Regions from separate parts of the Homo sapiens genome. Here regions 2 and 3 are each linked to region 1. Evidence: promoter capture Hi-C in human tissues and cell types (Jung and others, 2019). All regions are on one chromosome and are shown on one strand. The core of a region is centred on a gene start or on the middle of the fragment in contact, and the rest is flanking DNA. Distances in the headings are between cores, read along the strand shown.

Region 1 (4,860 bases), core at 1,132-3,631:
TTACGAGTACGAGAGTGACATAATCTGACTTATGCCATTTAAAAGATATTTTTCAATTTGAGTGATTAGGAAGATGGAAGTAACTAATATCAGAGATAGAAATCACATATGTAAGAGAAGATTTGCAGGGGGTAAATAATTCTGGACATGTTGAATGTAATGTTGTACTTCTGGCTGGGTGAGGGGGCTCATGCCTATAATCTCAGCACTTTGGGAGGCCAAGGCAGGAGGATCCTTTGAGCCCAGGAGTTCAAGACCAGCCTGGGCAACATAGTGAGACCTTTTCTCTACTGAAAAAATAAAAATAGCCAGACATAGTGTCAAGCTCCTGTGGTCCCAGCTACTGGGGTGTAGGGGAGGGGTGAGATCGGAGGATCACTTGGCCCTGGGAGGTTGAGGCTGCTGTGCAGTGATCTCCAGCCTGGGTGACAGAGGGAGGTCCTGTCTCTCTCTCTATATATATAAAATTTCCTTTGTGGCTTTCACAGTATCCATACTTTAAAAGAATTTATAATTAAGAAGGAATTAATACCTACCTCTGAAACAGTACAGCCAACCAATTCCATTGTTATTTACAAGAACCTGATATTAAAGATGGTTGTAACGATAATAGGTATCAAGTATGGAGCAGTTTCTATGTGTCAGGCCCTATGTCAACCACTTAACAACCTTACCTCACAGAAGCATCATAGCAACCCTTATTAGAAGAGGCTTTATTATGTTTTACAGGTGGGGAAACTAAGACTAAAGAAGATAACTCATTCAAGGTCAATCAGCAAGTAAGTAGCAGAATTGGAACTCAAACCCAGGTCTAGTTTGATGATAAAGCTGTTCCTTTAAGCAATTTGCCATAACATGCACCTAATGGGAAATGTTGCTTGGATCACTGGTTATGGCCATCATTCACGGAGATACTGAACCCGGAGTTTTCTTTAACATAGCCTTTACCCTGTAGAAACATTTAAACTTCATTTCAGAAGAGAAATATCTATTTGAAAAATAATCTAAGTAAATTCATCAGATGCTTTACCCCAGAGAGACTCTGGTCTTGGTATTTTGGTTTTTGTTGTTGTTTGAGACGGAGTCTCGCTCTGTCGCCGAGGCTGGAGTGCAGTGGCGCGATCTCGGCTCACTGCAACCTCCGCCTCCTGGGTTCAAGCAATTCTCCTGCCTCAGCCTCCCGAATAGCTGGGATTGCAGGCGCCCACCACCAGGCACGGCTAATTTTTGTATTTTTAGTAGAGACGGGGTTTCACCATTTTGACCAGGCTGGTCTCCAACTCAGGTGATCCCCCCGCCTCGGCCTCCCAAAGTTGCTGGTATTACAGATGTGAACCACCGCGCCCGGCCGGTATTTTGTGAAGAACAAACTATAAGGTGACTACTATTTTGGGGTCACCTTGACATGGAGGAGAGGTGAATGGAAATAAAACTTATTCTTCCCAGTGTCTTTAGAATGTAGGCGCTGAAACTGAGTGAAACTGAGTAAAACTGCCACCCAATTTTCCTGGGAACCAGCGATTCTGTAGTCAACAGAAGTTTGCTTTTCCAACAGCTGGAAACGCCAGGGTTGGGCACAGCCTCAAGAACTGAGGCTGCCTTGTTCAGACTTTCACACGGTCCCTCTGTTCCTTCCACAGAGGCCTCTTTTTCTTCTATATCCCGCATCTGCCGCTTGGGACACTCATTCTGTAGCGCAGCACCAAGTCTTCCAAAAAGGCGGCGCTGGTTTTGCGCTCCTTTTTTAAAGGGATCTAGGCCAGCCTCTATCTGAACTCTGTACGATGTTTTTTGTTTGTTTGTTTTGTTTTGTTTTTGAGATGGAATTTCGCTCTTGTTGCCCAGGCTGGAGTGCAATGGTGCGATCTCCACTCACGGCAACCTCCGCCTCCCGGATTCAAGCGATTCTCCTGCCTCAGCCTCCTGAGTAGCTGGGATTAAAGGCATGCGCCACCACTCCCAGCTAATTTTGTATTTTTAGTAGAGACGGGGTTTCTCCATGTTGGTCAGGCTGGTCTCGAACTCCCGACCTCAGGTGATCCGCCCGCCTCGGCCTCCCAAAGTGCTGGGATTATAGCCGTCCGTCACAGCGCCCGGCCAACTCTAGACAATATTTATTGCTCTACTTTTTAGTGTCTGAAGAAGAAAGAAGAGGACAGGAAAGAAACTTCAGTCTGAGGGTTGAGGACACGTCCCGGAGCAGAGGAGGACCAAGCTCCCAAGCCCCCTGTCACCTTGACACGCAGACGGTTCCCCAGGACTGCGAAGAGGGGGGCAACCAGCGCCCCGCCCCGCCCCGCTGCGCCGCCCGCCATTGGCCGGTCCGAAAGACGCGGGGCGTTGTCGGTTTGAATGAGAGCGCCTGGAGCCGGGGCGCAGGCGCAGAGGAGGGCGGTGTTGAGACCGGCGGAGCGGCGGGACCCCTAGGTGGCGGAGGGACGCTCCGGGAAAGCGAGGGGCGCTACGAGCTCTGGCCCACGTGACCTGCCGGGGGCGGGAGCAGGGGGCGCGCCGGCCTCCTGCGGTGCCCCTGCCTTGGGGAGGGGCCGTGACCACCCGTCTGTCGCCCGAGGCGGCCGCCGCTGCACCTTCACCGCGTACCCGGGACCCGCCCGCCCGCGGGAGGTGAGCGCTTCCGCGACGCGGGTTCTGAGGCGTTTGAGGGGCTCTCGGAGGGAGGTGACAGGGAGGGGTGCGTGTGCGTGCGTGTGGGGCTTCTGTGTCCAGAGGTCTGGGGGTGACGTCCTTTGTTTTGGGCAGGAGGCGGGCTGGGGGCTTGCGGGACCTGTGGGCGCTGCGGGGACGCGGCGTCGATGCTCAAGAAACCAGAAACTCGGCTTGAGGAGTTGCTGCTTTTTTGTCGGAAGGTCTTCAAATGAGAGTAAAGCGTTAAGAGCCTCACTCCTGAGTCTTTTTTTTTTTTTAAGATAAAAACTATACTAGAGTCCAGCGACTTCTTACCACTCTGAATGTGAGTAACAAATTGTGAATCAAAGCCCGAATCCCCGTGGAATTCATTCCGAGGCTGATTGCAATCACTTGGAGTCGGGCGCGTCCTACCTAAACCAGGCAGTTTATGGCAAATACCTGCCTTGACCGTGCTTAAATTAGTGAACTTTTGGGCACCAACTGGTCGATTTACCATAGAAATTGGTAGTTGCTGCAAAAAGAGTAAGTAAACATAAAACGTTAAGAAAACTCTTTCCTGAAATCTATAGAATACCTTCGAATAAAAAAAAATCTGTAATTTCCTTGTTTTAATAGTAACCAGTTAGAGCATTTGAACTAGTAGCATTTGAACTCTGTTAAAGAAAACGAGTAAGGATGGAAATTTTATTGGCCTTAATGCATAATTTAACCACACCGTAGAATTAAACGAAGTAGGTTCTTGGCTTTCCTTTCTATCGGGTTTGCATTGGAGCGTTCGTGGGGTGTGTTGGAAGTCAGCAGGACCAACAGAGCTGAGTTTTCAAGCTGCCACTTTAGAAGGGTGTACCGAAGATTTCTGGCCTGATAATAGCCGGTGTGATTGCTTCTGATAAATACCACTTTTGATTGGGTTCTCACTATTCAGGAGCAGCTTTAGTTGATTGTTTAGAAGTGAATAAACAACATTAAAAAGGGTAGATCACTGTTGGTTGACATGGTGTGTGTAAGGAGAGGGGGGCCTCAGGGATTAGGGGTGGTCTCACACCTACTTCTCTTTACAACTACCACGGAGTCGTTTTCGCAAGCTATTTCCCAGGCTATTACTTATAATTTAAGTATTGGAGCGGTTTCAAAGTAAAAAGTTGTGTGATGTTGTTGTAGAGGCATGTCTCCAAAATCCTCTCTGGCCAGATAAGCAGTTTAATTGTATTTTCTTACATTCTTAAATCAGATATTCGGTGTTACAAACATATTTTAATATAGATCTGAGACTTGCTTACTAGACTAATTAAAACAGTGATAAGATATAGTAGTTTTAAAAATGACCTTTTCATAAACATAAAATATTTCTAAGATCTATCTTTAGAAATTTGTAATTAGTTCTCTGGAATTTTAAAATGGAAAATCTGACATAGATTTAGGTTATTCTAAATTTATTTGAATATATATTAAATATGTCTATTTTATAATAACAGTTACTGTTATTACTACAGCACTATGTTGAGTACTTTTGTTATGTATCAGAGCCAGGTGCTGGGTCAGGTGCTTTATAAATCATGTCTGTAATTATCACAGCACATTTTAGGTAAGTGTCATTATGCCCACACCAACTGAGAGTTTAGCGTAAGATCATATAACTAATAAGTCACTGTGCCGAGATTCAAATCATGGCCTGATCCCAAAGCACATGCTGTATTGCTTCTGTGTGTCTGTTTAAATCTCTGCTGTGTCTCTGGATTCCATTTGTAGGGACAAGTTCTACTTTAAAGATGCCTTTAGGTGCTGTGTTTTGTTGTAGCTTCGCAGAAATATTTCAATCTTTCTGTTGGAACTATCTTGCTTCATTATTTTATAAATCATCTTATAAATCACATTATATTTTCAATATCTTCTTAATCATCTTTATACAAAACATAAGTGAAGAGTAAGACTTTTCTGAGTTTCTTACATAAATATGAATAGAATCTTTACTGTGGAGAAGAAATGTATTACAGTCCGGTTTTCTCACTATTGTAGGATTCTTTGGCCTCGTCATAATTCCTGTCTTCTTCCCAGGGAAGAAATTAAAGTTTGTTGGGCCTCTCTTATGTGCAAAGCAATGTCGTTGGTGTTGTGAGATGACAAGAAAATGCTTCCTATTCAGTAGTTGTTTCTGGAGTTTTTGTAGTATTTTTCTTTTCTCCCCATTCCTGCCTTATATGTTGCTGCTGG
Region 2 (4,860 bases), core at 1,269-3,768, 230 kb before region 1:
GGATGTGCATCATATATGTGAAAGGAAAATATCTTGGACCCCTAAAATCACTAAGCGAAAGGAAAATTCAAACTGGAAACTACTCAGGGCAAACCTAGCTCCCATTCTATTCAAAGTCATCCCTCTGCTCACTGAGGTAGATGCATATCTGACTGCCTCCTTTGGAAAAGCTTATCAGAAACTCAAAAAAATGCAACCATTTGTCTCTCCTCTACCAGTGCCCTGGAAGCTCCCTCCTTGCTTTGAGTTGTCCCCGCCTTTCTGGATGGAACCAATGTACTTCTTACATATATTGATTAATGTCTCATGTCTCCCTAAAATGTATAAAACCAAGATGTGCCCCGACCACCCTGAGTACATGTTGTCAGGACCTCCTGAGACTGTGTCATGGGAGCGTGTCCTCAACCTTGGCAAAATAAACTTTCTAAATTAGCTGAGACCTGTCTCAAATGTTCGAGGTTCACAAATATAATGATAAGCCATGTTTGCTGTAGTTAGCACCTAGCATCCTTCATGAAGGCAGAAACCCACAGTTCTCAGTCTTCAAAAGACCACATTGCCACTGCTGACACTGCTCAGTCCCTGACTTCCTGTCAACTGCTCGACACACAGTCTCCACAGGACCAGGCATAACGAGATAAAGATTTAATGTTCTTGGCACCCAAACTCTAGTTGAAGAAATTGCCTTTATTTGGAGTTCTCCCTTGATAACCGCTGGCAGAACTGAGGGCTGAGAACACTTGAAGGGAGCTGAACTGCTGGGCGTGCCGTGGGGCAGCAGGTTGGCAGTCACAGGAAAGGAGGGGAGGGGGTGGGGCAAGCGAGGGCAGCTGGGGAAGGTGAGCTGGGAGCTGCTGCCAGATGAGAAGGAGGGTAAGGTGGGATGTGTTTGAGGAGCCTCGGAGCAGCATAGAAGGGGCTGAGATTCACATCTCAGTTGTATGGAACTGAACTTGAAGGCAGGCAGTGCTGTGATAACGTAAGCTTTTAGGAAATCATAGAAGTCTCAGAGTTTTGGAGTTACCCAGACTATGGAAATAGGAGTTGGAGGCAAATTATATTCAGATCTCAAGGGCCAGGGAGGTTTCAATACCTGGTAGTGCAGATTTCGTATCTAGTCTGGGAGGTGGGCAGTGGCAGTGAGAACCTTCTCTCAAAGAAGACTGCAGATTAAACTCTGTCTCCTGCTCAGCGCACTTGTTTTCACATTGTCTGTGGTGGCTTTGACTCAAGCAGAGTTGAATAGTTGTGATAGAGACTGGATCACCTGCAAAGATTTACTGTCTAGCCCCAAAAGCACGTCTGGCAACCCCTGACCTCAAGTATTAATGAGCCTTTCAGTGTGCAAAGAAAGGCCTGTATCCAGGTTGGGGGAAAGACAAACTTCTCAAGAAGAACGTAGGTACAGAAGCCGCAGAGAGAGCGGGAAGGCCATGGGGAAGAGCAGCTCCAGCCCCCATGGCAGTCATGAGCACTTAAAATGTTTCCACATGGGGGCTCCAGTGATTAGGCTCGAACAAAGTTAACTGATTAACTTTCAAGAAAGATCAGAGAAACGGCTGGTCTTGGCTAGAAACCTTGGCTCTACCACAGAAGAGCAATGATGAGAAGGGAACTCTAGAGTGAAAACTGCAGAGGCCTAGAAAGGTGAGGACGGACAGAGGGCCTTTGAGAGCAGGAATAGGGTGGGGCTACAAATCTCTTGTTCATGTGCACCTTTGAGCATTCATGGGGGAAGTCTGATAGCAGTATTAGAAATTCAAGGAAAAAACAGCTGGTTTACCAATGTAATGTGATTAAAAGACGGTTCTCATCAGAATCCCTCAATTCTCTCCCCCCTCACCAAATCCCCTTCCCATCTGCTTAATTATTAACCCTTGGAAACTCAGCTTGAGAATTACTCCCCCCAGCCCTCTCCCAGGCACCAACTCTGCATCTCCATAGCCCCCATTCCAGACCGCTCAGGATGTCCTAGCTGTGGCACAGATGGTTATTTGCCAGTGTTCCTTCTCCCCTTGTTCCTTGGCAGACCAAGTGGACACATGACCTCCCAGAATAAAAACTGTATTTCGCAGCTGATACGGTTTGGATCTGTGTCCCCATTCAAATCTCATGTCAAACTGTAATCCCTGATATTGAAGGAGGGGCCTGCTGGGAAGTGATCATGGGGGTGGGTCCTTTGTGAATGGTTTCGCACCATCCCCTTAGTGCTGTTCTCGTGACAGAGTCCGCCCAAGACCTGCTTAAACGTGTTCAGCACCACCCCTCGCTCCGCCTTGCTCCTGTTCCCACCATGTGAGATGCCTCGCCCCGCCCCAACCCTTTGCCTTCTGCCATTACTGGAAGTTTCCTGAGGCCTCCCCAGAAGCAGAAGCTGCTATGCTTCCTGTACACTCTGTGGAACCATGAGCCAATAAACCTCTTTATTACCCAGTCTCTGCTATTTCTTTACAGCAATGCAAGAACAGACTAATATATCAGCTTCCCTTTGTGTGGCCTGAAGACCACATTCTGATCAACAGGAAGTAAGCAGTCGTGTTGCGTAACAACCCACAGCAAGCTTTACCAGACAGCTTGTGTGTGCCCTTTGTCCCTTCTCTTCTTTCTGCTGTTTCAGAATATGAAAGTAGTAGCCAGAGCTCAAATCTCTCTCTCTGTCCCTGGATGGCATACTAAGTAGCCACAACATGCAAGATGGACGTCTGGGTCCCAAAAGTGGCAGAGCTCCCATGCCTGGGGCTTACCTCTGGACTCCTGTGCCTAAGAAATGCCTCTCATTTAAACTACTGTTTTCCCCCATGAGGTGAAGCTATGTTTCTTTCTCCCATTAGTACTACCACCCCAATTCCAACCAGAGAAGTACTACCACCCCAATTCCATCCTCAGAAGAGGGTGCTCAAAAAACAATCCCAGCACTTTGGGAAGCTGAGGCAGGAGGACCACTTGAGCCCAGAAGTTCAAGACCAGTCTGGGCAACATAGTGAGACCCTATCTCTACAAATTTTTAATTAGCTGGGCATGGTGGTACATGCCAGTAGTTCAAGCTACTGGTGGGGAGGAGGTGAGGTGGGAGGATTATTTTAGCCCAGAGGCTGAGGCTACAATGAGCCATGATTGTGCCACTGCACTCCAGCCTGGGTAACAGAACAAGACCCTGTCTCAAAAAAACAACAACAACAACAACAAAACATGGACAGCAATTACATCATGAAGAGGCTTCTATGCCCTCCAACCACCTGCATTCCTGTTTTATTGATGTTCTAGGCTAAATATTACACAGGTTAGAATTTGGCATTAAGGAGATAGAGAATCCCAGAAAAATTTTAAAGCTACTCTTACCCCAAAGAAAAGGTTTTGAACACTATATTTGATAACTTTCTCTTAAATTTTTAATATCACAATTGATATGGTTTGTATTTCTGTCCTTGCCCAAATCTCATGTCAAATTGTAATCCCCAATATTGGAGGAGGGGGCTGGTGGGAGGTGATTGGGTTATGAGGGCGGATTTCCCCCTTGCTATTCTTGTTATTAAACCTGGTTGTTTAAAAGTGTGTAGACCTCCCCAAGCTCTCTTCCTCCGGCTCTAGCTATATAAGACGTGCCTGCTTCCCCTTCGCCTTCCACCAAGACTGTAAGTTTCCTGAGGCCTCCCCAGCTTCCTGCATGCTTCCTGTGCAGCCTGCAGAACTGTAAGTCAATTAAACCTCTTTTCTTTATAAATTACCCAGTCTCAGGTAGTTCTTCACAGCAATGTGAGAACAGACTAACAACAATCAACTCATGGCTTTAACACAAAAAAAATAGGTAAGTTCAAAATTAACATATTACCACATCCAACTTCTTTATTCTTGAGAAAACAAAAAAGTCCAAAATCAAAGGAAAGCACCCGTTTTAAACCCTCATATCTTTCTCAGGGCTCACTGCAGTCTGGCCATATCTCAAGCAGGTCTGTCCAATGGCTTGGAACATAGACTTTTGCAGTGAAACTTTAAAAACATTACTTGAATTAGGATTACACAAAAAAAACTAAATTCTAAGTGAGCACAACTATCGCTGAGACCCTGAAATTTCAGGAAATAAACATGGTTCAAAACTCAAACTGTTCATCAAAATAATTACGCAGGTCAGCCACCACTGCAGAACCATCACTGCTCAGAGGAATTGAGTCAGCAATGACTGATCTCATCATCTCTTCATTAGCACATAAGCGGTTCAACTTGGGATACGCAAGGAGTCTCTGCAGAGGTACGAAAAATTTATCTCCAACACAGAAGGGTGTGGGAGAGTTCTCTATCTTGGCCTTCTCAACCTCTGTGAAGACTGGTCCAAAGCATGGGACAGGGGCCTTTGAGCCACCAATGTCTTTGGGCTTATCACCCCGTTCCCCAGCCTGTTCTTTCCGCCTTGGCAGGTGGCTCACTCTTAAGCTTTCCACTTGTTGGGACACCTCATTAACCAACACAAGTTTAAAGAACCTTTCCTGCTGTAAGCTTGGGTATGAGGTGGTAAAAACCTGAAGGGAAAAAACAAAACACTTACAAGTGTATAATAATATAAACATACATAAATTTTCAAAGCCATCAATAACTTTTTTGCCATGTAAGAATAAATGTACATATTGAATATATGTCAGATCCTACTAATCGTAAATGCCTCAGTTATAATGGGAATCAAATCACTGACACATAGAAATTAACTATCCGATTTGCTTTCTAATGCTAATGCCCAATGTCTCCCAGCCAGGTTTCTACCAAGTCACATGAACCCAGTATTTCTACTTGATATTACAGGGGCAAGGGCAAAAAAAAATGAAAAATGGTTCAGTTAAAAGGGAAAACGTGGGTAAGTGCAGTGACTCA
Region 3 (4,860 bases), core at 789-3,288, 140 kb before region 1:
AAGCTGTGTTGCCTAATCTTCCCTGATTCTGTCTCCTCATTGAAAAAGACAGGAATAGTAATATTTTCCTTCGAAGTTGTTTTGAGAATCAAAATAAATCATAATGTGAGAACATTCAGAACATGCTGCACGTATGTCAGCTGGTATGTACTTTCTTTTGACCCATTATCTTGTATTAGATTTACTGCTTAAGTTCTCACCTTGATATCCAGTTCTCAGAATATGACCCATTGCTTATTCTTTTAAGAATAAATCAAGTAAGCCTGATTATAATAACTTTTAAAAATTATACAGTAGGATCTTTAACTTAGTTACTAAGGAATCCATTTGATGCCCTTATTGGCACCTAATGTGTGGCTTGCTCAAGGTATTTAGAAAAGGAAAAAAATACTAATCAGTGGCCTGGCGCGGTGGCTCATGCCTGTAATCCCAGCACTTTGGGAGGCCGAGGCAGGCGGATCACGAGGTCAGGAGATCAAGACCATCCTGGATAACATGGTGAAACCCCGTCTCTACTAAAAATACAAAAAAATAGCCAGGCGTGGTGGCGGGCGCCTGTAGTCCCAGCTACTCGGGAGGCTGAGGCCGGAGAATGGCGTGAACCCGGGAGGCGGAGTTTGCAGTGAGCCGACCAGCCTGGGCAACAGAGCGAGACTCCGTCTCAAAAAAAAAAAAAAAAAAAATACTAATCAGCTACCATGGATGAAGCGTGGACCAGCAAACTTGGTCACTGGCATGTTGTATAAATGGCTGCACCTAAAGTGTCATACTACTCATCTCGGCAAAATTGGTTCTTCAATTAAGGCTGAATGCAGTTAATTATATTTAAGTTTAATGCCACCAAAATCAAATAAAACTAGGGCATTATGAGGGATCTTGACAAGGATTCTGTGCCTTTGACTCACAGTTTGAATCATGTACAATATGTATCTGCCAATTTTTGGACCTTTCTGACTCACCATTGTTCTGTATTAAAAATTCATACTGCACACCACCTTCACACATGGATTTCTCTCTCTCTCTCTTTCTTTCTTTCCCTCCCTCCCTCTCTTTTCTCTTTTTTCTTTCTTTCTTTCTGTCTGTCTTTCTTTCTTTTTCTTTCTTTTTTTTAGACAGGATCTCGCTCTGTCACCTAGGCTGGAGTGAGTGCTGTGGCACAATCATAGCTCACAGCAGCCTTGAACTCCTGGCCTTAAGCCATCCTCCTGCCTCATCCTCCCAAGGGGACCACAGGTGTGCACCACCACAACTGGCTAATTTTTTTTTTTTTTTTTTTGTAGAGTCAGGGTCTCCCTATGTTGCCTAGGCTGGTCTCAAACTCCTGGGCTTAAGCGATCCTCCTGCCTTGGCCTCCCAAAGTACTCAGATTATAGGCATAAGCCATCATGCCCAGCCACCCATGGATTTCTGATTATGTGGCCCACCATGGAAATAACTCGAGTACCCCTTCAAATCTTGCTCTGATCTAACCAGTAATTAATCCTGTTACTTAGACTAGTTTGCTTATATTTTTTCCCTGCAGTAATCAAGGCCATTTTTGGATGATGGTGGAATAAAACAAGTGATTTTGTGTTTGTTATTTTTATTGCCTAGGTGCCTGCTGCCCTTTGGGGGTGAAATTATATAGGCTGGGCCCTAATGGCATCCGGATCTACTGGCAAGCCTCCAGGGGCTCTGCCAATTACAGCACTGACCTCTATGGCTCCAAAGGCATTTTCACGTGCACCCCGAGTGCTGGCCTCAGTTTCTGTGATGTCACTGAGATACCCTGTGGGGATGTATACACTGTGATGGTCTCACCAGTTGCTAAAACAGGATTGAAGCTTACTTTCTGTCCAAAAAAAATATATTCAGGTAAAGCAAGTTATGACAGTTTATCTAAAACTAACCCTGAACTCATATCTGTGAATTAAGATGCAATCAAACTTATTTACTATGTATGAAGGGCACAGAGGGTATAAAATTTCTTTCTTTTTTTTTTTTTTTTTTTTTGAGACAGTCTCACTCTGTCGCCCAGGCTGGAGTGCAATGGCATGATCTTGGCTCACTGCAACCTCCACCTCCCAGGGTCAAGCAATTCTCCTGCCTCAGCCTCCCAAGTAGCTGCGATTACAGGCACCTGGCATCATACCTGAGTAATTTTTGTATTTTTGTAGAGACGGGGCTTCAGCATATTGGCCAGGCTGGTCATGAACTCCTGACCTCAGGTGATCCTCCTGCCTCAGCCTCCCAAAGTGCTGGGATTACAGGCATGAACCACTGCACCCAGTCAAGGGTATAAAATTTCTACACAGCACAGGCAGATTCTGGCTGTGGAAGACCCCAAGATTCTTTGGAATTGTGATGCTTTATTTAATTTAGAGATTATCTTCTCTGTCCCACTCTTCCCCTTCCTAAAAAGGACTAGATGCTTGCTGCTTAATTAGTAAAGCAAATTTAAGATAATTTTCTGCTTTGAGATTTAGGGATAGATTTTTTAACATAGTCTTGCTGATAATGATAGACATCCTGGGATGTTGGAAATTAGGAAACTTGAACTTTTATTTGCACAGACTGAGAATTATGACTGAGGAAAAGTTAGAGGATCAGAAAAAATAAATTTATAAATCACAAGCTAGGCTTGGCAATATGAGTGGGCAGACAATCTGTGATCACAAAGCATGGCTGTCAGCAACTACCATCTCACCAGAGCTGGCAGGAAAACATTAGCAATTCTCCGCTCTGTGTTCCAGCACCTTCTGCTACCTTGCCCAGGGCACAGTCATATATTTTTCATGTATTCCTAGAAGAAAAGAGATGATGAAGCCCTAGAATTTTGCAGGTGAACACAGAAAAAAAGAATAAATATTGGCTCACAAGCCCTTACTGATAGCCAGAATCTAAAATTTTGAATGATATGTAGGTGACAGGAGGTTCAGGATGGCCCTTGGTGATGGAAGGAGGACAGTTCCTCCCAAGGGGCTGTTCTCATTGTCCCTGGCTGTCATGCTCTGATTCCTTGTTTTTCCATTATTTGGTCCACAGGACAAGCTGGCCCAAAGCATAGCCCTATGGGAAGGGACAGGAATAGGTTCCTGGTGTCAGGATGAGCTCTTAGGAAGATGAGTCTACAGCTCAATAACAATACTGCATCATAACTGCATAATATTTTATAATTTATCCAGTGGTTTCATATCACAAATCTCATCAAATGCTCAAAATATGCTATGCTATAGGCTCAACATATTTCATTATCTCCACTTTGTAAATGAGAAAACTGAAGCTCAGAGGCTCCCAAATCTCTATCTACAACTCTTCTCTTCTCCTGACCCCTAAGTCCGTATTCAAATTTGATACCTCCACCTGGAGGTGCCCAGGCATTTCAAACCCCTCAGGGGCAAAAGGAACTCCTGATCCTCTGCTGTTTCTGATCTTCCTCCCATCGTCCTTGTTTCAGGTACATTAGCTAAAAACCCTGGAGTCAGCTTCTGTCTCCCTCACCCTCCATATCTAAGTAATCTCGAATTCTCGTCCTGGTCACCTTCATGATGGTTCCTAAATCCCGAGTCTTCTCTTCATTCCCACAGCTACTGCTATGCCTCAGGCCCTCACCACCTCTCCCCTAGACTACTGCACCAGTCCCATCTCCCTGTCCTCACTCCAGCCTCTGTAATGCTACCAGAGTTATCATTCCAGGACACTGGTCCAATTGTGTTACTTTTATGCTGCCACATCTTCAAAACTTTTCCATTTCCCCATAAGATAACATTCAATCCTCTGGGCATGGTGTTCACAGTCCCTTATAATCTGTCCCCTGTCTACTTATACCTGCACTGTTCAATAGAAATTTAATATGCACCATGCATGAAAAATTAAATTTTCTAGTAGCCATATTAAAAAAGTAAAAAGAGGTGAAATTAATTTCATAATATATTTTAGTTAACCCAATATATCCAAAATATTATCATTTCAACATCTAATCAATATAAAAATTATTAATAGATATTTTGTACATTTTTCATACTGTCTTTGAAATCTGGTGTGTCTTTTGTACTTATAGTACATTTAGTTCAAACTAGCCATATGTTCAATAGCTACTTCAGTGTCCACTGTACTGGACAGAGAAATTGTTTTTTTTTGTGGGGTTTTTTTGTTTGTTTTTTATTGAGAAAGGGTCTTGCTTTTTCATCCAGGCTAGAGTTCAGTGGTGCAATCACTGCTCAATGCAGCCTTGACCTCCTGGGCTCAAGCAATCCTCCTGCCTCAGCCTCCCAAGTAGCTGGGACTATAGGCATGCCCCACCATGCTTGGCTAATTTTTAAAATTTTTTTGTAGAGACAAGGTCTTGCTTTGTTGCCCAGGCTGGTCTTGAACTCCCGGGCTCAAGCAATCCTCTCGCCGCAGCCTCCCAAAGAGCTGAGATTACAGGCATAAGCCACTGTGCCCAGCCTGAACAGAGAAATTCTAGGCTCATTCCACAACATCCGTCCTGAGAGGACTCTATTCTCTAGTCTAGGCATCTGGCATCATTAACGTGTGCCTGCTTCGGCCACACACACCTCCTATTCTATGTCATGTTCTGGAGCTACTGCAGTGCTCTTCTCTTTGCCCGGAATTCCACCCCACTTCCACCAAGAGAACTCTACTGGCCCCAATTTTCCTTGTCTGTGAAGCCTTCTCCAATTATCATAAGCAGAGTTAGCCCTCTCTCTCTCCCTCCTTTATGACCCCACAGCACCCTTATCTGTACTGCAACATATTACTGTGAATTGAATGTGTGCTTTTCTCCTAATAAATGATTATCTATTTGACTCCCAGTACGTAGCACGTAACTGTTGCCTGATATATTTGAAATTTAAAAAAGAATGAATCAATGAATAT

The links. The method cuts DNA at HindIII sites, captures the fragments that hold promoters and counts their contacts. A contact is called where the count stands out against the background at its distance.
Region 2: a fragment that was not itself captured here is called in contact with the fragment with the promoter of GPSM2 in region 1 in 2 of the 25 tissues and cell types used here (mesenchymal stem cells and pancreas).
Region 3: a fragment that was not itself captured here is called in contact with the fragment with the promoter of GPSM2 in region 1 in 1 of the 25 tissues and cell types used here (mesenchymal stem cells).

What each region holds. Positions count from the first base shown.
Region 1 is chr1:108,874,604-108,879,463 of GRCh38, forward strand. It overlaps GPSM2 (G protein signaling modulator 2), which reads left to right and starts at 2,382. Exons shown (of 15, transcript NM_013296.5): 1 at 2,382-2,625. RefSeq lists an enhancer at 2,038-2,137 and silencers at 2,218-2,617, 2,708-2,777. The HindIII fragment of the contact is 24,726 bases long and covers 1-4,860 here.
Region 2 is chr1:108,644,478-108,649,337 of GRCh38, forward strand. It overlaps HENMT1 (HEN methyltransferase 1), which reads right to left. Exons shown (of 8, transcript NM_001102592.2): 8 at 3,818-4,514. The coding sequence ends at 4,089. Among named protein-coding and RNA genes, the nearest start is that of HENMT1, 14 kb to the right of the region's middle. The HindIII fragment of the contact is 3,882 bases long and covers 578-4,459 here.
Region 3 is chr1:108,731,679-108,736,538 of GRCh38, forward strand. It overlaps FNDC7 (fibronectin type III domain containing 7), which reads left to right. Exons shown (of 13, transcript NM_001144937.3): 10 at 1,594-1,854. Among named protein-coding and RNA genes, the nearest start is that of STXBP3, 13 kb to the right of the region's middle. The HindIII fragment of the contact is 6,375 bases long and covers 1-4,860 here.